Regions from separate parts of the Homo sapiens genome. Here regions 1, 2, 3, 4, 5 and 7 are each linked to region 6. Evidence: promoter capture Hi-C in 16 types of primary human blood cells and fetal thymus (Javierre and others, 2016). All regions are on one chromosome and are shown on one strand. Each heading gives the region's core, a stretch centred on a gene start or on the middle of the fragment in contact. The rest is flanking DNA. Distances are from core to core; before and after follow the strand shown. Region 1 overlaps MCF2L2 (MCF.2 cell line derived transforming sequence-like 2). Region 2 overlaps MCF2L2 (MCF.2 cell line derived transforming sequence-like 2). Region 3 overlaps MCF2L2 (MCF.2 cell line derived transforming sequence-like 2). Region 4 overlaps KLHL24 (kelch like family member 24). Region 5 overlaps KLHL24 (kelch like family member 24). Region 6 holds the start of MCF2L2 (MCF.2 cell line derived transforming sequence-like 2). Region 7 overlaps KLHL24 (kelch like family member 24).

Region 1 (2,772 bases), core at 89-2,588, 250 kb after region 6:
TGGAACCAACTAATCATTTTACCTGGAGGTACCACTTACCCTGCGGAGGGGCTAGAGCTTGTCAGGTTTTTCAGTTCCTGTGTCGCCTCCCAGCCCTGCCCACCCCAGGCTGTGGCTGCCTATGGCTGACGAAGGCTCCTGAGCCAGGCCCAACCGCCAGCCTCCCAGTGGGTGGCTCTATGGTCCCTAGCAGCCCTGGCATCATCCGGGGCACAGAGGCCATGGACCCTGGAGACACAGCCCTTCCTATTCATGCAGGGGATGGTCAAGGGCATGGCTCCCTCTGTCCCTCTATCCCTCCATCACAGAACTTTCAGCAAGACAATCATTCTTCCATTCTCACTGCTTGCTCCTGGCATAAGGGGACCCCAGGGCTGGATGACTTCTCTAAAGAGGAGTCTTGGGTTTCCTTAGATGCTCCCAAGTCCTGTCTGGAGGATGAAGGCAGGGGGCACATCCCTGAGGCAGTTTCTCCTCTGCCCTCCACCCCTTGCCCCTCCCACCTCCTGGGACTAGGAACTCAACCAGGACTTGCTTCAACCTGAGAGGAGGGTGTCCAGCCCCCTCGGAGCCTGCCAGAGTCAGGCAGGATTTCAGAGGGGCCTCCAGGGAGGTGCTGCCCAGCTGCCCCCCCGCCCCCATGTTACTCACACAGCCCCCACTGATCTGCTCTGGGGAGGGCCTGGGGCCCAGAACGTGGCTTGTTGGGGGCTTGGGGCAGCAGCCCAGGAGACGCTACTTGTGCTGCCTGCTCACCCAGATAACTGCAGCTCCCTCCACTGCCGCCTACCGCCCTCTGGCCATGCCTCTGCCCAGAATGCCCTCCCTCTCCAGTCCTGTCTGCCCCTCAAGTCCTGCCCAAACCTCCCTGAATTCTCGCCTGAGCAGACACTTTCCTAGCACGGCTCCCGCCGCGTAGACTACTCAGCTGACCCTCGGTCTGGGGCTGTCCTGTGTTGGGACCTTTCTGCAGATGCTCTGCTCCCTACCCTGGCTTGTGAGCCATGTGGGGCAGAGACTCCATCTCACTCAGAGCGAGGGTAAAGAGCAGGAGTGCTGGAGAAGACAGCTGCCCTGCCACAGGCCAAGAGGACTTGGCCAAGTGACCATTGCTGTCTGTTTCCCCAACTGTAAAGGGGGCTGAGACCCTTACAGGGTTGTGAGGCTTAAACTTTGACAAATGCCTAACATACCACCAGGCACAGGGCAGTTGTTCAGTATTTGGCAGTGGCTGCTGTTCCCCACAGTGTCCAACACCGCCCCAGGGATGTAACATGTGCGCCATAGACAAGACTGATGGATTAATTAATCAGTTCACTGCAGAGAGAGGCAGGATGGATGCACTTGCTTGTTCCTCTGATTTTCCCTTATGGGGAGCAGTGACACTTGGCAGAGGCTGCCAGGGAGATGGGAAATGGACATTAATTAGGGGAGAGAAAAGGAGGCAAGGAGGGGAGGGTGAGAAAGAGACAGGGGAGGAGGAAGGGAAGGAGGCGTGGTTAGAAGACTGGCAAACACAAAAAACAATGACTGTTTTCTTGGAGGAACGGGGAGGTAGGGCCATGAACAGCATGTGGACGCGCCTTCTCGGTGAATTACGGCATCTCGGCGCTGGAAAAGCAGCCTGGAGATCACAGACCCCCTCACAGCCCAGCGCAGTGCAGGCCCTTGGAGAGCAGGAGTTAGAGATGGGGAGGACCGTGCCTGCAACAGGCACTGCCTGCTACACCCTGCCATGGGCAGAGGGGATGTCCTCCCACCCCACAGAGGCCCCATCCTTCCCTTTCTCTCCCTAAGGCTGCTCCAGCAGGGAGTTTAGCTCCATGGACACCTTTGAAGACTGTGAAGGCGCAGAAGACATGGAAAAGGAGAGCAGTGCTCTGAGTGTAATTACTTCCCTTTTGTTTCTTTCATCTTCTTCCCTCCTTCCTATTCATCAGCTCCTCCTGCCTCCTGTCCCTAGCCTCCATCCCTCTCCCCCTCCTCAGGATTCTCACCCATAAGGACCTGGTTAAGCCAGGGAGCCGAGGTCACCAGACCCTCAAACTGGCTCTGACCCTCCTAGTCCAGCATGTCCCCACGTGGCTGTCTCCTTGGCGGTGCGCTGGTGTCCGGTCATAACTGGGGCTCCCGCTGAGAGCCCCGTGGCCCAGGTGGGAGGGCTGGGGTGGGCCTCAGCCTGCCAGCGGGAGTCACCACCTTGCCCGGTCTGGCCACAGCCTCCAGCAATAACTCTGAGGGTGCACCCGTCCCCTCCCTTCCAGCTCGCGGGCCTTTTCCAGTCGGACGACAGTCACGAAACCTGTTCCTCCAAATCTGCTTTCCTGGAGAGGGGAGAAAGCAGCCAGGGAGAAAAAGAAGAACGCGATGAGGAGGAAACGTGAGTGTGAGCGAGGAAAGACTAAGCGCCTCTTTGGGCCACGGCGTCTCTGACTTTCTTCTCGGAATTGCAGGGCGACCCGCAGCACCGAGGAGGAGCGCGCTGGGGCGTCCACGGGCCGGCTGGCTCCTGCGGGGGCGACGGCTGGTTTCCAGGCGAGGGCGCTGCGCCCGAGGACCTCCGCCCAGGAGAGCTGACCTCCCTGCGGACGCCCCCGCTCCTCGGCTCCAGAGCGCCCGCATTCCCGGGAGAGGCGGTGTGGGGGCCCGGGCCCTGCCCAGCTACGCAGAAAGCAGCCGGAGCCTCGGCGGCGGCAGAAAGGGGACAACCAGGGCCTCCTCCGAGGAGCCCGAGGGGTGTCCTGGGTGCGCGCCTAGCTCCGCACGGGGGAC
Region 2 (2,700 bases), core at 84-2,583, 230 kb after region 6:
ACTTTTTTCTTTAGAGATAGCAGGAATGCAACTGGCTCACACTTTTTCTAGGTCTTCTATGATCATCAGCTGCTCAGGAACGTGCAAAGCTGGGTGTGCATCATAAGATAAGGGAAAAGGTAAACCAAGCAGTGTAACTGGAAAGCCACCACATCAGTTTTCTGTCACAAAAACCAAGCAACATAAGTTCTTGATTTAAACTGTAGGTAACTGCCAGGAACTAGTAACAATATTATGTCATTGATTTTACTTTGTATACAGATAAGATGGGAAAAAAACTATGGTTTACTTTTGTTTTACAACTATTAATATTATGTTAAATATATGTCATGGTAATTGAGTAGGAGTGTCCTAGAGGCTTAACACAGAATGATATGGCAACTCTAGTAGAAAAAGTCACTTGTTCCCTGCAGAAACAACATTCTAGTCACAAGCTTGTTTAGAAATCCTTACTCACTAGGTCAGTGTTTCTCAAAGGGTGGTTTAAGGACCACCTGCATTCAAATTATTTGAAGGGCTTGCTACAAATGCAGATTTCTAGGTTCCACCCCAGAACTATAGAATAGCTAGGGTTAGTCCTGGGGACATACATTTTAGCTTATTAAGGTTTCTAGGTAGAGACCTTTTACTACAATTTTTAAAACTCCTTTACTGAGGTATAATGACACGATAAACCACACATATTTAAAGTGTACAATCTGATAAGTTTTGACATCTGTATACATCTGTAAGGCATCACCACAGTAAGGATAATGAACATGCCTATCACCGCCAAAGGTTTGTTCACACTGCTTTGCATTCCCTTTCTCCTGCCCCTCCCTCACCCACCCCAGGTGACCACCAATCTCCTTTCTGTCACTATAGGTTAGTTTGCATTTTCTAGAATTTCATAAGAGATAATACACTATGTACTTTTTTTTTTGGTCTGGCTTCTCTCCTCTGCATAATTATTCTGAGATTCATCTATTTGGATTTTGTAAACAATAGTACATATTTTGGTTGTTGCTGAGTAGTATTTCATTGTTTGGCTAGACCCCGTTTTCTTTATCCATTTACTTGTTAATGAACATCCGATTTGTTTCTGCTTTGGGGCTATTTTGAATAATGCTGCTATGAACATGCAAGTACAAGTCTTTGTGTGGACATGTGTTTTCATTTCTCTTGGGTAAATACCTAAGAGTGTAATGGTTAGGCCATATGGTAGGTGTATGTTTAATTTTTTAGGAAATTTCTAAATAGTTTCCAAAGTGATTATAGTATCTTCCATTCCCATAGTAATGTATGAGAGTTCCACTTGTGCCATGTCCTCACCAATACTTGGTATTGTCAGTCTTTTAAATTTTCAGATTTCTAATAGGGGCATAGTGGTATGTCATTAGGTTTTAATTTGCTTTTCCCTAGTAACTAATGGTTGAGCATCTCTTTATGTGCTTCTTTGCCATCTTTATCTCTTCTTTGGTGAAGTGTCTGTTCAAATCTTTTGCTCATTGTTTTCTTATTATTGACTTTTGAGAGTTTTTATGTATATCCTAGATATATGTCCTTTTAATGCTTTGTAAATATTTTCTTCTAGTGTGTGGCATCTTTTTCTCTTAAGAGTGACTTTTGAAGAGCAAAAGACTTTAATTCTTATAATATTTAATTTTAAAAACTGTATGTATCATGTTTTCGGTATCCTGCCTAAGAAATCGTTATCTAAAAGCCATAAAGATTTTCTCCCTGTGTTTTCTTCCAGAAGTTTTATAGTTTTACATTTAGGTCTCTGATCCATTTTGAGTATTTGTTTGTTTGTTTGTTTGTTTCTGTTTTTGATTTGTATGTGGTGTGAGGTATGGATCAAAGTTCAGTCCTTTGCATACTGATGTTCTAGTTTTTCCATTGCCAGTTGTTAAAAACACTATTCTTTCTCCAATTGATGATTTATGTAAGTGCATCTATTTCTGGATGCCTGATTCTTTTCCATTGATCTATTTGTCTACCTTGACATCAGTCCCTCACTATCTTGGTTACTGCTGCTTTCTAATAAGTCTTAAAATGAGGTAGTTAGAGTCCTATAATTTTGTTCTTCCTTTTTAAAGTTGTTTTGATTATTCTGTGTCCTTTATACTTCTATATATATTTTAGAATCTGCTTGCCAACTTCTCAAAAAACCTTATTGAGATTTTGATTAGGATTATGTAAAATCTCTAGAACAATTTGGTGAGAATTGACTTCTTAACAATATTAAGCTTAATCTAAAATTTATATTTTAACTGACTCCCCTGCTGCCTTCCTGGCCCTGCAAAAAAAGACAAGTTTGTTATGAAGATATGACACTTATTCAGTTGACAATTCGGAAAGAGATTTCTCAAGCCCTCCTTAAGGCCTGAACTGTGCTTTATAGGTTGTGACAGGAATGCAAAAATCTAGATAAGAAGCAAAACCAGGACCCAGCACGTGGTTTAGATAAAAAGAAAACACTACTGAACTGAAAGGCCCAGAGGTGTTGTGCCAGCCCCTTCCTTTTACAGATGTGCAAGCAGAGGGTCAATTTTACATAACTTATCCGCAGCAGAACTGAGTCTCCTGAGCCTGGTGCACCAAGTAGGCTCTGATGAAATGTCTCTGTGAGTGATGCAAATGGCAAGGGCTTTAAGAATTTAGAGAGGGCCCACAGTGGATGGTGAGTGAGCGGGAACCAGGGCCCTGGGCTGAACCAGG
Region 3 (2,744 bases), core at 31-2,530, 210 kb after region 6:
TTTAAAAAAGCTAAATTCTGGCCAGGCACAGTGGCTTACGCCTGTAATCCCAGCACTTTAGGAGGCCAAGGTGGGTGGATCACCTGAGGTTAGGAGTTTGAGAACAGCCTGGTCAACATGGCGAAACTCCGTCTCTACTAAAAATACAAAAATTAGCCAGGCATGGTGGCGCACACCTGTAATCCCAGCTACTCGGGAGGCTGAGACAGGAGAATTGCTTGAATCCAGGAGGCAGAGGTTGCAGCGAGCCGAGATCGTGCCTCTGCACTCCAGCCTGGGTGACAGAGTGAAACTCTCTCTCGCTCTCAAAAAAAAAAAAAAAAAAAAAAAAAAAAAAAAAAAATATATATATATATATATATATATATATAATATATATACTTATATTTTATATAATATATAATATATAAATATTTAATATATATAATTAATATATAAACATATAATTATATATTAATATATAAATATTTAATATACTATATAAATATTTATATAATATATATACACATAAGAAACATATAGAATTCAGCTATATAGCTGAATTCTATATGTTTCTTATGTAGCAGGAATATAATTTCCATGATTTATGAACTTCATTCGTCACTAGTACAATGCACAGAGGTAGATGATTTTGCTTGTCTCTATGCCGTATACCTAAATCAGTAAGCATCTTTAGCCACCATGCTTTGGGAGCAGGGAGACAGATCAATATCCACCCTTCTCAGTCAGGGTTGGCTGGATCCCTGGCTCCTCATCTCTGTCCTGTTTTCCTTCTTCACTTTGCAGATGGTATACTTTTGATTTCCAACAAGGCATTTGTTTTCCACAGGATGGGCCAAAGAGAACCAAAGATTCAGCATTCTCAACTGAACTACAACAAGCTTTGGCAGTGATAGAGGATTTGATCAAGTCCTGTGAGTTGGCTGTGGACCTAGCAGCAGTGACTGAATGTCCGGTATGTTCCATAGTAGTGTTAGAGCATCTCACACAAAAGGCAGGTGCAATACTACACAGTGAGGAAATGCTCTGGCAAAGTCAGAGAGATCGTCTATGGTAAAGGAATTGGACTCTGAGGACAGTCGCCTAAATTGCTCAGTAAACCCGCACTACAAGATTCCAAGCTGTCCCTTGGCATCTTCAGGAATCTTGGATTTATTCCTCAGGGTTCTGAATGTGGGACTGACCCACTGTCTGGACAAACCAGAAAGTCAAGGGCCAGAACATATATGGGCAGAGGAAAAGTCCTGGAGGAGCAATTTATTTTCTAACTCATGGCACTATTAAAATAGTAAAAGATTTGTCTTCTTGTTTCAGAGTTTCTCTAAGAAAAGTATTTTGGAAACAGGTCCTATATTCTTGCCCCAATTTTATATCACAGATCCCAGAAGAGGCCCCAAAAGTATATAGTGTACATGCATTAATCCAAATAGTCTAAAGAAAACCCAAGAGATGCAGTTAGAGGCCAATGCTGGGGAGTTGAGCTCCAGCGTCAGTGTTAATCCGGAGCAGGCTGGTCCCAGGCATTCCAGGCAAAACATCCCCTATAACTGTATGATCTCTTTGAGACTGGAGCATAGTTAATATTCGACTTGTTTTGTTTTTTACTTTGAAGTACTCTAGATTTTTATTCAGATGTGTTTGTTTTATTTCACTGTCATAATAAATTACCATAAGCTTGGTGGCTTAGAGCAGCACAAATTCATTATTATTATTATTTTGAAGTTCCAAGGTCAGAAGTTCAACACAGTCTCATGGGCTAAAATCAAGGTGTTTCCTTTCCTTTTTGGAGTCTAGCATCTGTCTCCTGGAATTTTCCAGCTTAAAAAGGCCACCCACGCTCCATGGCTCATGGCTTCTATGAGCAGAGGTAATAAAGCACAAACCAGCAATGGCAGGTTGGGTTCTTCTTCTTTTTGTTTGTTTGTTTTTGAGACAGAGTCTTGCTCTGTCGCCCAGGCTGGAGTGTAATGGCATGATCTCAGCTCACTGCAACCTCTGCCCGCCAGGTTCAAGCGATTCTCCTGTCCCAGCCTCCTGAGTAGCTGGGACTACAGGCACTTGCCACCACACCTTGCTAATTTTTTTTTTTTTTTGTATTTTTAGTAGAGACGGGGCTTCTCCATGTTGGTCAGGCTGGTCTCGAACTCCTGACCTCGTGATCCACCCATCTCCGCCTCCCAAAGTGCTGGGATTACAGGTGAGAGCCATCGTGCCCGGCCAAGTTTTTCTTACATCACATCTCTGTGACCCCCTCTTCTGCGTTTTTGTCACTTGTGATTATATTATACTTTTTCCTTCTCTTTTTTTTTCTTTTCATTTTTATTTGGTTTTGAACATACCATGTATTGAGGTCTTGGTAGAGGAAATGACTTTTCTTTCCTTGTCATAAATCAAACCATGAAAGTTATTAAGGTCCGAAAAATGAGTTATTTTTACTTCCCACGCTGGTATTTCTTGGGCCTGGATCTCAGAAACTTAGCCCCATGGGGTTTGCTGTGATCCCAGCCATGATGCTGTTACTGTCCCCTGGGACTCCAAGGTGTCTCTGATGACAACTGATGCATGATTCAAGAGGATATGCATAAACTGCAGAGTAGGGTTAGGGTGTGTATAAGGATCATTTTCTTGGTAATAATTCTTCTTTCTTCGCCTGAGGAAAGTCAAGGGAACAATTTGTTAGGTCAATCCAGGGCATCTTTCTGTTCCTTTTTAAATCTTGAATTACGTATTAGACATCCCTATTA
Region 4 (2,713 bases), core at 105-2,604, 210 kb before region 6:
CAAGTTTAGACAAATTCAAAAGTTGATTCCAAAACCAAATATAAACGACCTTTTTTTTAAATGTATACACACAAACACATATGTATACCCAGACTGTGTTATGATCATCAAGTGAATGCTATCCTGTGTTTCCTTACTTTCAGAAGTGAACCTGACTTGTATGTACCCTTGGTAAAAAAATATTGCAACTAGGGCAAATTTGGGAATTGTTACTCCTAGCTAAGTAAATCTTCCTTCCCAATGGACAATAAGATCCTGAATCAATGCAGGGATGCAGGTCAATTCATGAAACATTTATAAAGAACCTAGTTTATGTCTGTCACTGGCTGGCAAATACTGGATTCAGATCCAATTTTAGACTCTGTGGGGTTGGCTAAGAGTAGAGCCAAACAAGAACTCCAAGATTGGTACTAAAATAGATTCAAATTCTTAGCAGGTGCAGACTGGAATAGAGCCTCTCATAACCGATCTGGTCTAGAATTATACCTTATGGGGTAGAAAGCATAAGGCAATTCACCTGGACATTTTCTATGGATTTTTAGGTAATACCAACCTAATCGGTAAGGGTAAGGGATGGAAGAGAGAGGGTACAAAGTCTGATGGAGATATGTAATATCAGAATTAATCTACAGCGTGAGTGTACTGAAACAAGCTTATGTTTCCTTTAGAATGCAGAAATTCTATACGATGAGGTTACTAACATCCTTAAAGATAGTATGGATTAATGAGGGGCTTCTAAAAACTAATACCAGAAAACAAAGGAACCAACAACATCCTGACTAGCATGGCCCCTAAAACTTGTAGTAGAGAACTGCTGCATACTATGTTCTACGCTACTCCATTTTCTCAAATTTAACCTTGAAAGAACACCACAGGAGATGAAAAGAAAGGTTAACCAAGAGGTTTATCTTGAAAGATATATAGTAACTCAAAAGAAAGAAAGTCAGAAAATAATTGCAATATAGTAAATCTTTTTTTTTTTTTTTTTTTTGAGACAGTCTCACTCTGTTGCCAGGCTGGAGTGCAGTGGCATGATCTCGGCTCACTGCAACCTTCACCTCCTGGGTTCAAGCGATTCTCCTGCCTCAGCCTCCCATGTAGCTGGGACTACAGGTGTGCGCCACCATGTATTTTTAGTAGAGACGGGGTTTCACCATGTTGGCCAGGATGGCCTCGATCTCTTGACCTTGTGATCCACCCGCCTCGACCTCCCAAAGTTCTGGGATTACAGGCGTGAGCCACTGTGCCCGGCCAGTACATCTTTTATTTAAAAAATAACCAGAAAATCATATATAATAAGGTACTATACAAAACCAAGCAATTTTTATACATTTCAGATATTTTCACCCTATAGTCTCAAAAGCTAATTTATTTGATGACTTTTTAAAAATCATAAACTTGCACTATCAAAATTTCAGTTTAAAGAATTACTCTGCAGCAGTGGTTCCTGGACCATGTTTTACAAATGTAATGTTTAAAGCCCAGCCTTCAAGCTATTTTCAACATTTCCAGTTTCTTAATGGAACCACCAAGACCATATTTACCCACCACAAGATAACAGAAACTGGCTGGCCGAGGTGGCTCACGCCTGCAGTCCCAGCACTTTGAGAGGCTGAGGCAGGCGGATCACGAGGTCAAGGGTTCGAGACCAGCCTGGCCAACATAGTGAAACCCCGTTTCTACTAAAAATACAAAAAAATTAGCCGGGTGTGGTGGCGGGCACCTGTAATCCCAGCTACTCAGGAGGCTGAGGCAGCGGAAATGCTTGAACCCAGGAGGCGGAGGTTGCAGTGAGCCAAGATGGCACCATCACACTCCAGCCTGGGCGACAGAGCAAGACTCTGTCTCAAAAAAAAAAAAAAAAAGAAAAAAGAAAAAAGAAAAAAAAGAAAAGGTAACAGAAACCAACTAAAACCTTGAGTTTCTTTGGATAGAATGATAGCAACTATGGATTACCCCATATTTATTAGAACCTCAAATGGGCAATATACTATATGACTTTGCTTGATGAGAAACAAAACAGATAGCTGTTGATGACAAATTTAGGAAAGCTTAAACAATGTGTCAGACTAAACAATATGGTTCTTTAACTAAAAAAGAATACTATTGTCTCTTAAATCACAGGAAAAAAAATATGAATTTCTCCAGTGTTTCTCTCCCTCGACTTAAAACTTCTGGCTACTGATATTCCCCAACCCTAAAGGAAGAAAAAAACTTGTTAACCATCAGACATCACACGTGGTATACCAAGCTGCCCTATTGAGCCTACTCATGCTTCTGACTAGACTTGATGTGTAAATTTACTGTTGTTTGGTTTTATCTTGCTAACATGTTTCTTTTAGGTATTTAATGCATTGTTTTATTTGATAATCAAAACACCTATAGATATATGATATAGTTATGTTTTCTGTTAGAAAAATGGTTTTGGTTATTTATTTATTGAGATGGAGTCTCGCTCTGTCACCCAGGATTGAGTGCAGTGGCACAATCTTGGCTCACTGCAACCCCCACCTCCCGGGTTCAAGTGATTCTCCTGCCTCAGCCTCCCGAGTAGCTGGGATTACAGGAGCGTGCTACCACACCAGGCTAATATTTTCTGGGTTTGTTTGTTTGTTTGGTTTTTAGTGGAGATGGGGGTTTCACTATGTTGGCCAGGCTGGTCTCGAACTCCTGACCTGGTGATCCACCTGGCCCGGCCTCCCAAAGTGCTGGG
Region 5 (2,771 bases), core at 212-2,711, 230 kb before region 6:
ATAAAGTATGTATTGTTATATTTCTCAGTGTGGATAATATATATAATAATCTGCAAAGCTGGTGAAATTATTTTACCAATTAACAGACTTCCCATCATAGATACTATAGTTATACTTTGTACAAGTCTGTCATTTTATTTTCTAATTTTAAAGGTAACATATCACAATCATAAAGAAGTTCAAGTTAAGAATTTTAAAGCAAATCTTATTTCATAAACTTTGCGGAGAATTTCAGAAAACATGGGTGAATTAGAAATGCTTAATTCTATGAGTACTTCTGACTTGCAAAGAGGTAAAGTTTAAAAAATTACAGCATATTCTACATGCATTTGAGAGCATTTAAAATATGACATGATTAAAGGTATCTTCTGGTGGATCTTTTGTAAATCATTCCATGTCATCTTGTACCTGTGTTTTTTTTGTTGTTGCTTTTTGTTTGTTTTTTGTTTTTGAGGCGGAGTCTTGCTTTGTCACCAGGCTGGAGTGCAGTGGCGCGATCTCGGCTTACTGCAATCTCCGCCTCCCGAGTTCAAGTGATTCTCCTGCCTCAGCCTCCTGAGTAGCTGGGACTACAGTTGCCCACTACCACACCTGGCTAATTTTTGTATTTTTTAGTAGAGATGGGGTTTCACCATGTTGGCCAGGATGGTCTCGATCTCCTGACCCGGTGATCTGCTTGCCTCGGCCTCCCAAAGTGCTGGGATTACAGGCGTGAGCCACCGCGCCTGGCCTTGTACCTGTTTTTAAGAGCAAAAAGTCATTCTTGGTTTTATTTGTTGTAAACTGATCTTCCTCAAGTGGGAGTATTCACATTTCACTATTTTAAGACACTGTTGATGTTTAAAATAATGAAGCTGTGTCCAAATTAAAAGTAGCTACTGTAATAATTCTATATTTACCTGAAACAAGAATGTCATTCCTTAGAGCACAGACTGCATACTCTGATTTGGTAAATTCTGGAAGCTTAGCCAAAGACTTCCATTCTCCTGTTACAGGATCGTAGCACTCAGTGTATGGAAGATTAAATCCTCCAACTCGCTCACATCCTCCAACGACAACTATCACCTCAGAATAGCCAGTGGACCTAAAATAATAATTATTAGCGTACATAAATAATATAATAATATTACATTAAAATATACTCCAGATTTTTTCTTAAAACTCTAAAAACAAACCACGCACTATTATAAACAGTTAAGTTTCTTCTCTGTGCATGTGCCAAACGGTACAGCCTGGAAATTACTTACTTTGAGAACGTTTATAGGGGAGCTAGTGACATCATTATTCCACAGAAAATTTCTGTTGCTATTTTTTTCTATTGGTTTTGACCTGAAAATTGTAAAAAAGTCCAAAGATCCTATCTAACCCAATCAGAATCCTGGCAATATTAAGGATGACTTTCAAATGCAGTTTTGCAGTGATTCAGATACGCATAACCACACAAGGTAAGATAATGCATTTTTTTCTAACTGTAGGAAAATGGTGCTCTTTCATCAGCTTGCTAGTTCTAAAAAACTAATTCATAGTATAATCCAAGCACCCTTTAAAGGAATATGTATATGTACTTGTTCAGAAATTAGTTTTTAAAATACAAAGTCAAGTAAATTAAGGTAATACAACTCAAAATGTTGGGCAATCACTAAAAAGGCTAACAGTTTATAACAAGAATGTTAAAGGAGAAAAGCAAGATGAAAAACTGTACATTAGGCATATTCAATACTATCTAAAAAATGTATCTGGAAAGAATATACCAAAATGCTAAAGATAGTTGTCTCTGAATTGTTTGGCTCCCCCCATTTCTATCATTACAAATTTCCAAACCAATAATGAGCCTGAGCTATTTTTAGAATGCAAAAAACAGCATTTAACACCACTAAAAGAATTCTAATGTTTCTGTTAATCACTGGCTTCTCTCATTTTTTAGATTTAAAATAGAGACAGGAATAACCAAAAGCTTATCCACAATTTTTTGTTCATAAAATTCAATTGATAGTTTAGGAATTTTAAAATTCTTTAGCTTTTATATTTTTCACAAATATAATCTAAATGAAAATGTTTTATAGTTACATTTTATGGTTGCTACAAGTTAAGTCTCACAAAGAAAAATGCCAACAATCCTTCTTCTCTTACTTATAGAGGGGAAAAAAAAACCCACATCAGGACACTGATTTGTAATTTTAGTCAGTGTGCTGTTACACAATTACAGTAGGAAAAAACAAGCAATATTGGCGTGTCTCTTTTAACAGAGCTGTTCTAGCTACATTTACTCAGACCTATGTCAACTAACCAAATCACGTACCTATTCTATGCCAGGCATACTTTTTCCGTTATAAAATCAGAAATAAATATGGGAGAAAAGAATTTTCTCTATACATGCAAACAAAAGTACTTTTAGGAATCCAGGAAATTATATAACCTTTACCTAGTATTTAGTAAAACATTAACAGAAGGACCTAAATATTATCAGTAATATTTACTATTTTCCAAGTAATTCCAAAATAAAAGTATTAAAAATAAAGAGAGCACAGCACCAGATACTTTAGTAGTATAACTACTGACTTATCTATCATTCTTTCCATATAAGTATTTCCTAAAACACACTTAAAATCTAAGACAAATCCTCAAAAAAGGTGATATTCCTCAAAGTCTTATTTATTAATCAATCAAAACAAACACTGCTAGTCACTGAAGTTAAATCACTTCTGTCTTAATATAAAATCCAGAGTAATGATTATATATCATAGGATTTTGTTTTATCCTTTCCTTATTGT
Region 6 (2,791 bases), core at 30-2,529:
GAAACTCCATCTCTAAAAACGAAAAAAAAAAAAAAGAAAGAAAAGAAAAAGAAAATCCTTGCTCTGTTTTGCAGGCAGAGTGCAAAGTGCCCAAACTTCACAGGGGGAAGAACCTCTCCACAAATCTCATGACACAGGTGAACTGACCTCGCTTCTCAATCACAGCCCACAATTGTTAGAGAAAGCATTAAAAAGGGCTGGGCGCGGTGGCTCACGCCTGTAATCCCAGCACTTTGGGAGGCCAAGGTGGGCGGATCACGAGGTCAGGAGATCGAGACCATCCTTGGCTAACACGGTGAAACAAACCCCATCTCTACTAAAAAATACAAAAAATTAGCCGGGCGTGGTGGCGGGCGCCTGTAGTCCCAGCTACTCGGGAGGCTGAGGCAGGAGAATGGCGTGAACCCGGGAGGCGGAGCTTGCAGTGAGCTGAGATCGCGCCATTGCACTCCAGCCTGGGCGACAGAGCCAGACTCAGTCTCCAAAAAAAAGAAGAAAAGAGAAAGCATTAAAAAAATACCCTCAGCCCCCTGTGATGGGTGGCTACTCCTAGAATTTGGATCCAGGGTGTTTGCGGCTTGGCTTTTTACATATCGAAGAGGAAAGAGATGGCTGAGAACATCCGCCTGGGTGGTCCCGCCATTCCGCCTGCTGAGTATTCAGGGACTCCCGCTGTAGAAAGGATTGGGGGACAACCTGACCGAATTCGCATTTGCTCAGGCGTTTCCCGTAGCGCTCTGCTGAACTGGGGTTAGTCTTTTGCTGCCAGTCAGAAAGTGTCTGGGCCCAACTAGGGAAACCACGGGATAATGGGCTGATGGGGAGGAGGACCAGCATGGAGGATGTGCCACAGCCCCTCCAGAAGGTAGCACTGGCGTGCCTGACAGGTGACAGACGGAGCAGAGGCAAGGGCGCAGCTGCACGAAGGAAAACGCCCACATAGGGGGTGAGCGCGCCCACGCGTGCTCAGCCTTGTCGGAGCGCAGCCCGGGCGCCGGGCTCCCAGTGCAGGTGTGGCCAGCGGAGGTCAAGAACTGCGTGGAACAACCCCAAGTGGGGGAAAACACACGCCAGCCGCCCCCGGGGTCAGGAGGTGGGGCAAGCAGCGGCGCCTCACCCAGCCTCCCGCTCCGGGTCCTGCCGGATGGCGGCAGCTCTCCGGGCCAGCCCCCTTCTCTCCGCGGCTCCTCCGCAGACACCCGGCGCGGAAGAAGGAGGGGCGGAGACCTGGCCGGCGCGCGTCTGATGATCCGGACCCCGGTGCGACTGGAGCGCCTCAGTCACTGTCTCCCCGCCCCACGGTTCCGAGTAAGGACCGGAGCTCCACTCCGGGGGTGGAGCGCGGGCTCCCCGCAGGGAAAGGTGCGCAGCGTTCCCGACCCCAAAACGAGCGGCGCTTGGGAGCGTGCGTGCCTCCCCGAGAGCCCCGGGCGCCACCCGTGGGCTGGACGAGGTGGGCGCTGGGGCGTGGGGCCGGCGGCGCAGAGAAGCCACGGCCACCTGCCGCCTCCCCTGCACCTGGCGGAGCATCCCTCACTCTACAGTCCCTGGAGGCGGCGCCGGAAACCTGGCGGCCGGGACCGCGATTCTGGAAGCCCCGGAGCTCGCCCGGCCGGAGGAGCCGGGGCGCGGTTCCGGCGAGATTGGCGACTTGCTTCCTTTTGCAGAACGGCCGCTCCTCTCTCGGTCCAGCTGCGACGCTGGGAAAGCGCCAGACTTGGTCTGTCACGGGAGCCCCCGCGGGGCGTGGCGAGGGAGAGCTGGCCTAGGCTGCGAGGGACTCTCGTTTCTTGCCTGGAGAGCCAGGAAGAGGGCGAGGGCAGAGCATCCTTGGGCGGAGATGCCTTTAAAAAATCATCCACCGCAGCGGTAGAAACAGTTTTGTTTGGCTTTATTTATACGGAATGGTTTTTCAGTGAAATGCTGTCTTGCTTAAAAGAAGAGATGCCTCCCCAGGAGCTCACCCGGCGACTGGCCACAGTGATCACTCATGTCGGTAAACGAAGCTTTAATTTTTCCTGCGTTTTATTAATGGCGGGTGAGGATGGTCTCTGGGCTTCATCTGGCTCCTGGCCTCACCCGCTGCCCCGGGGCAGCGCGCTTCCTGGGGGGTTGCCCGGCATCTGGGCCTCGCTGCTCTGGGTCCTGCCTGCGGTGCCCAGCGGGGGGCATCCCTGGGGCGCGCCGCTGGTGGGGGTCGGGGGGCCGAGGCTGGTGCCTTCACCAGGTGGTTGCCGAGTCCGTTGAGCTCCAAACCGAGGGCTGCTGGGCTGTTACCATCCGTTAGCTGCTTCTGACGGGAGTAGGGTGGGTGGGAAGTTATGTTCTGGTTTTGGGGATAGTGAGAAAGGAGAGGGCATAAGAGGAACGAATGCCAGTGCTTTTCAGCAGAAATGATTGCCACGCCACTGAAGGCTTGTTTATAAGAAAGTGCAGGGAGAGGCAGGTTACATGGGAGCGCCCCTGCGCAGCTCGGCCGCTAGGCCTGTTTTACTGTGCTGCCTGGAGGGTTAAGCACACCCCTGATGATCCCCGCGAGAAATCTCTGCAAGCCAAGGAGACTGAGCAATTTTAATCTTCTTCCCTGAGTTGAAAAGAGGAGCAAAACATGCATTGCTTGCTCCTGAAATAAGGGTTGTGATGGAACGTCAGGCCCCACAGACTAAGTAAGGGCAAGAGGACATTGAGACAGTTCCCAGTCAGTTTTTTCTTAGCACTTTCTTCCCCTTGGCCTTCCCTGGACCTCCCTCAGTAAAGACACACATTCAGGTTCAGAACCTCTGGATGTGGG
Region 7 (2,700 bases), core at 154-2,653, 250 kb before region 6:
CACACAAATGTAAAATGTTCATATAAAACATTAAAAAATGTCTAAAGTGTCTCTGGAATTATTCATTCACACTCCTGGCTCAAATGGTTTCTGGTGCCTAGCATTAGATGTGACAATAATGATAGCTAGCTAGTCAAACCTACTGCCTTAAAGATCAACCAATTTGCTCCATTCTGGTTACTTGGCATGGTAAATTTATTTAACTAAAAAGAATAATGGGGTGAGGTGATGTAAACCTGGCTTTCAATAAGATGCACAACAAATTCTAATAAGGCCAAAACTCTGTTGAGGTTAACTGGTGTCTTGAGTTTACTAAAATAAAGGCAGTCCATAGGAAGCCTCAAAGAGACATTATCTTACCACTTGGCACCACAAAAACACCAAGCTCTCCTCTCTGAAAATACAGGCCGGGGGTGGTGGCTCACGCCTGTAATCCCAGCACTTTGGGAGGCCGAGGTGGGCGGATCACGTGGTCAGGAGTGATCCGTCTCTACTAAACCCCGTCTCTACTAAAAATACAAAAAAATTAGCCGGGTGTGGTGGCACGCACCTGTGGTCTCAGCTACTCGGGAGGCTGAGGCAGAATCCCTTGAACCCGGGAGGTGGAGGTTGCAGTCAGCTGAGATCGCGCCACTGCACTCCAGCCTGGGCGACAGAGCAAGACCCCGTTCTCCCCCCTTCCCCAAAAAAAAAAAAAAACGAAAAAAATACAGTTTGAAGTAGATGTCGTCTTTTCCACATATAAATCTCAAGACATAAAAGGCACACACAATTCAACTCCTCTCTTTTCATATATGGGTTCTCACAGCAATTTAAAAAATCTATTGCCATATCCAGACAACAGGAGAAAAAAAAAATACCTGGTTTGCTTATTGACAAAAGTGGTGTAATTGAACCTTTGTCTTTCCTGAGTTTCAAAAAGGCTATTTGACAGTAGAGATACATAAACAATTCATATTCAGTAAGATAAAATGTATCAGTCCACAAAACATTTTCATCTTTTTAAGTATAAAAGAATCAATGTTCAACCACCACCATGTGTGAAGCCCCTTTTTCCAAATTAAACTTACTCTAGAATCATGAATTGAAGATTATTCAGTCATGGCACTTTACACCCCAAACGAGCAAAAGTAACAAGTTAATACCCTCCCTGAGTATTTACATCATCTTATCACCTGGTTTAAATGGAGTAAATACCTATATTTCAATCATCTAGGAAATAAAAAGGTTACTGAAGATCCAATACACTAGTATTTCATACCTGTGCAGTAAAGTCAGTGGGAAGATTACAGTAGAAAAGGAGGAAGTTCTACTGTTGTAAAAATTAGACCACTTTTGTAGCTGACTCACATAGAGGAAAAACAGAAAATGATTAAAGTTCATGAAAAAAAAACTATACTTTTCTGTTCTACAAAGCATACCTTTGAATTCCCTTTCCAACTGAGGTATCACAGCTGGGTTTAGCAAACTCATCTCTTCTGACCTTGTAAAACTAAATTGTCATAAAGATTCTGATTATACATAAGTCATCGTTACTAATACTCATCATGTACTTTCAAATGTAAAAAGTTCTAGAAATGCCCAAATAAAAAAAAATTCCAGAATTGAATTTAGCATGGTCAACTAATTTTTACTTTATGTGCTTTTTTGCTGATCATCACAGACTGCTAAAATTCATGGTGTTTGGTATATATGTGTGTATACAACCATACTATCTACATACATACACATGTACATATATAGATTCTAAACCAAAGGTTCATATGAGCATCACCTATCAAAAGAAAAATCTTTATGTGATGAGAGAATGAATACAATCTGACACCAATTTGGTTGATATACCCCTTTTGATATATTAATTCTACTCTAAAATTCTTTTTTATTTTATCAAGTCTAATGCTATTATTTATCAAGAATTAGTAAAGGAAGATAAATATTAAAAAATTAAAATATTAAGTTGGGTAACTTTAAAAATAGTTATTTAAATTTTCTAAGATTCAACCTAAGTTCTTGGTGGCCTTCAATATAAATTTTAAGTACTTAATTTATGTAGTTTTAAATTATGTAGAGAAAAAATTAATATTGGTGTGAGGTCTGTGTTTAAAAAAATTCTGTTTTTCAGGATTTCATTTCAAATTTACTATAATAAACACATGGATATTAAAATAAATGTATAACAAAATAAAAGTAAATAGTTAATACTTTTTACAACAGAAAAATACTAGAATATAAAGTTGTCTTGAGAAAGTCTTTTTTTATGTGAAGTCCTATATTCATGAAATGGACATGATCTTACAAATACACATGAAAATAACAACTATCATTTGTAGAATCCTCAGCATTTACAAAATACTTTTTCACACATTATCTCATTTACTGTAAAGAATTTCTTAACTAAATAATTCTATTATCTATAAGAGTATAATGCAGATGTTTACTCTAAAATTAAAGTACAAGTATCCAAACTGTACCTACATTCTTTCAACTAAGAGGATAGAAAATTGTTTTCTGAATTGTTGTTATCACAAAATGGTATCTATCATTTTAAAATTATGATTTGAAAAATAAAAATTCCCTAAAAATTTTTAAGTTTTTTAGAGTTTTCCTCAGAATGTAGATTCTAGCTAAGCATTAAAGTTTAAAAAATGTCTATCTGAAATCTCTGAATCATTCTAAAATGAGAAAACAATGTAGCTTACC

Evidence for each region. Contacts are between HindIII fragments. The CHiCAGO score rates a contact against its expected background, and 5 or more counts as called.
Region 1: a fragment that was not itself captured here is called in contact with the fragment with the promoter of MCF2L2 in region 6 in 7 of 17 cell types (erythroblasts, megakaryocytes, M2 macrophages and 4 more); the score reaches 9.3 in erythroblasts.
Region 2: a fragment that was not itself captured here is called in contact with the fragment with the promoter of MCF2L2 in region 6 in 7 of 17 cell types (M1 macrophages, M2 macrophages, endothelial precursors and 4 more); the score reaches 11.6 in M1 macrophages.
Region 3: a fragment that was not itself captured here is called in contact with the fragment with the promoter of MCF2L2 in region 6 in 1 of 17 cell types (M1 macrophages); the score reaches 5.1 in M1 macrophages.
Region 4: a contact is called between a fragment that was not itself captured here and the fragment with the promoter of MCF2L2 in region 6, in 2 of 17 cell types (M1 macrophages and M2 macrophages). The highest score is 6.4, in M1 macrophages.
Region 5: a contact is called between a fragment that was not itself captured here and the fragment with the promoter of MCF2L2 in region 6, in 1 of 17 cell types (M1 macrophages). The highest score is 5.1, in M1 macrophages.
Region 7: a contact is called between a fragment that was not itself captured here and the fragment with the promoter of MCF2L2 in region 6, in 2 of 17 cell types (M2 macrophages and M1 macrophages). The highest score is 5.7, in M2 macrophages.

The regions. Positions count from the first base shown.
Region 1 is chr3:183,179,185-183,181,956 of GRCh38, reverse strand. MCF2L2 (MCF.2 cell line derived transforming sequence-like 2) reads left to right here. Exons shown (of 30, transcript NM_015078.4): 28 at 1,798-1,886; 29 at 2,265-2,380; 30 at 2,454-2,772. The coding sequence ends at 2,577. Among named protein-coding and RNA genes, the nearest start is that of LAMP3, 18 kb to the right of the region's middle. RefSeq lists a silencer at 2,607-2,696. The HindIII fragment of the contact is 8,037 bases long and covers 1-2,772 here.
Region 2 is chr3:183,196,552-183,199,251 of GRCh38, reverse strand. All of the region lies in intron 25 of MCF2L2 (MCF.2 cell line derived transforming sequence-like 2), which reads left to right. Among named protein-coding and RNA genes, the nearest start is that of LAMP3, 35 kb to the right of the region's middle. The HindIII fragment of the contact is 1,794 bases long and covers 437-2,230 here.
Region 3 is chr3:183,214,180-183,216,923 of GRCh38, reverse strand. It overlaps MCF2L2 (MCF.2 cell line derived transforming sequence-like 2), which reads left to right. Exons shown (of 30, transcript NM_015078.4): 22 at 830-955. Among named protein-coding and RNA genes, the nearest start is that of B3GNT5, 38 kb to the left of the region's middle. The HindIII fragment of the contact is 793 bases long and covers 884-1,676 here.
Region 4 is chr3:183,639,753-183,642,465 of GRCh38, reverse strand. The region is part of intron 1 of KLHL24 (kelch like family member 24); the gene reads right to left. Among named protein-coding and RNA genes, the nearest start is that of KLHL24, 5.5 kb to the right of the region's middle. The HindIII fragment of the contact is 1,399 bases long and covers 655-2,053 here.
Region 5 is chr3:183,661,771-183,664,541 of GRCh38, reverse strand. It overlaps KLHL24 (kelch like family member 24), which reads right to left. Exons shown (of 8, transcript NM_017644.3): 4 at 900-1,084. Among named protein-coding and RNA genes, the nearest start is that of KLHL24, 28 kb to the right of the region's middle. The HindIII fragment of the contact is 991 bases long and covers 966-1,956 here.
Region 6 is chr3:183,427,107-183,429,897 of GRCh38, reverse strand. It overlaps MCF2L2 (MCF.2 cell line derived transforming sequence-like 2), which reads left to right and starts at 1,279. Exons shown (of 30, transcript NM_015078.4): 1 at 1,279-1,996. The coding sequence starts at 1,921. RefSeq lists a silencer at 1,450-1,529. The HindIII fragment of the contact is 2,747 bases long and covers 1-2,008 here.
Region 7 is chr3:183,680,937-183,683,636 of GRCh38, reverse strand. KLHL24 (kelch like family member 24) reads right to left here. Exons shown (of 8, transcript NM_017644.3): 8 at 1-2,700. Among named protein-coding and RNA genes, the nearest start is that of YEATS2, 16 kb to the left of the region's middle. The HindIII fragment of the contact is 3,164 bases long and covers 1-2,700 here.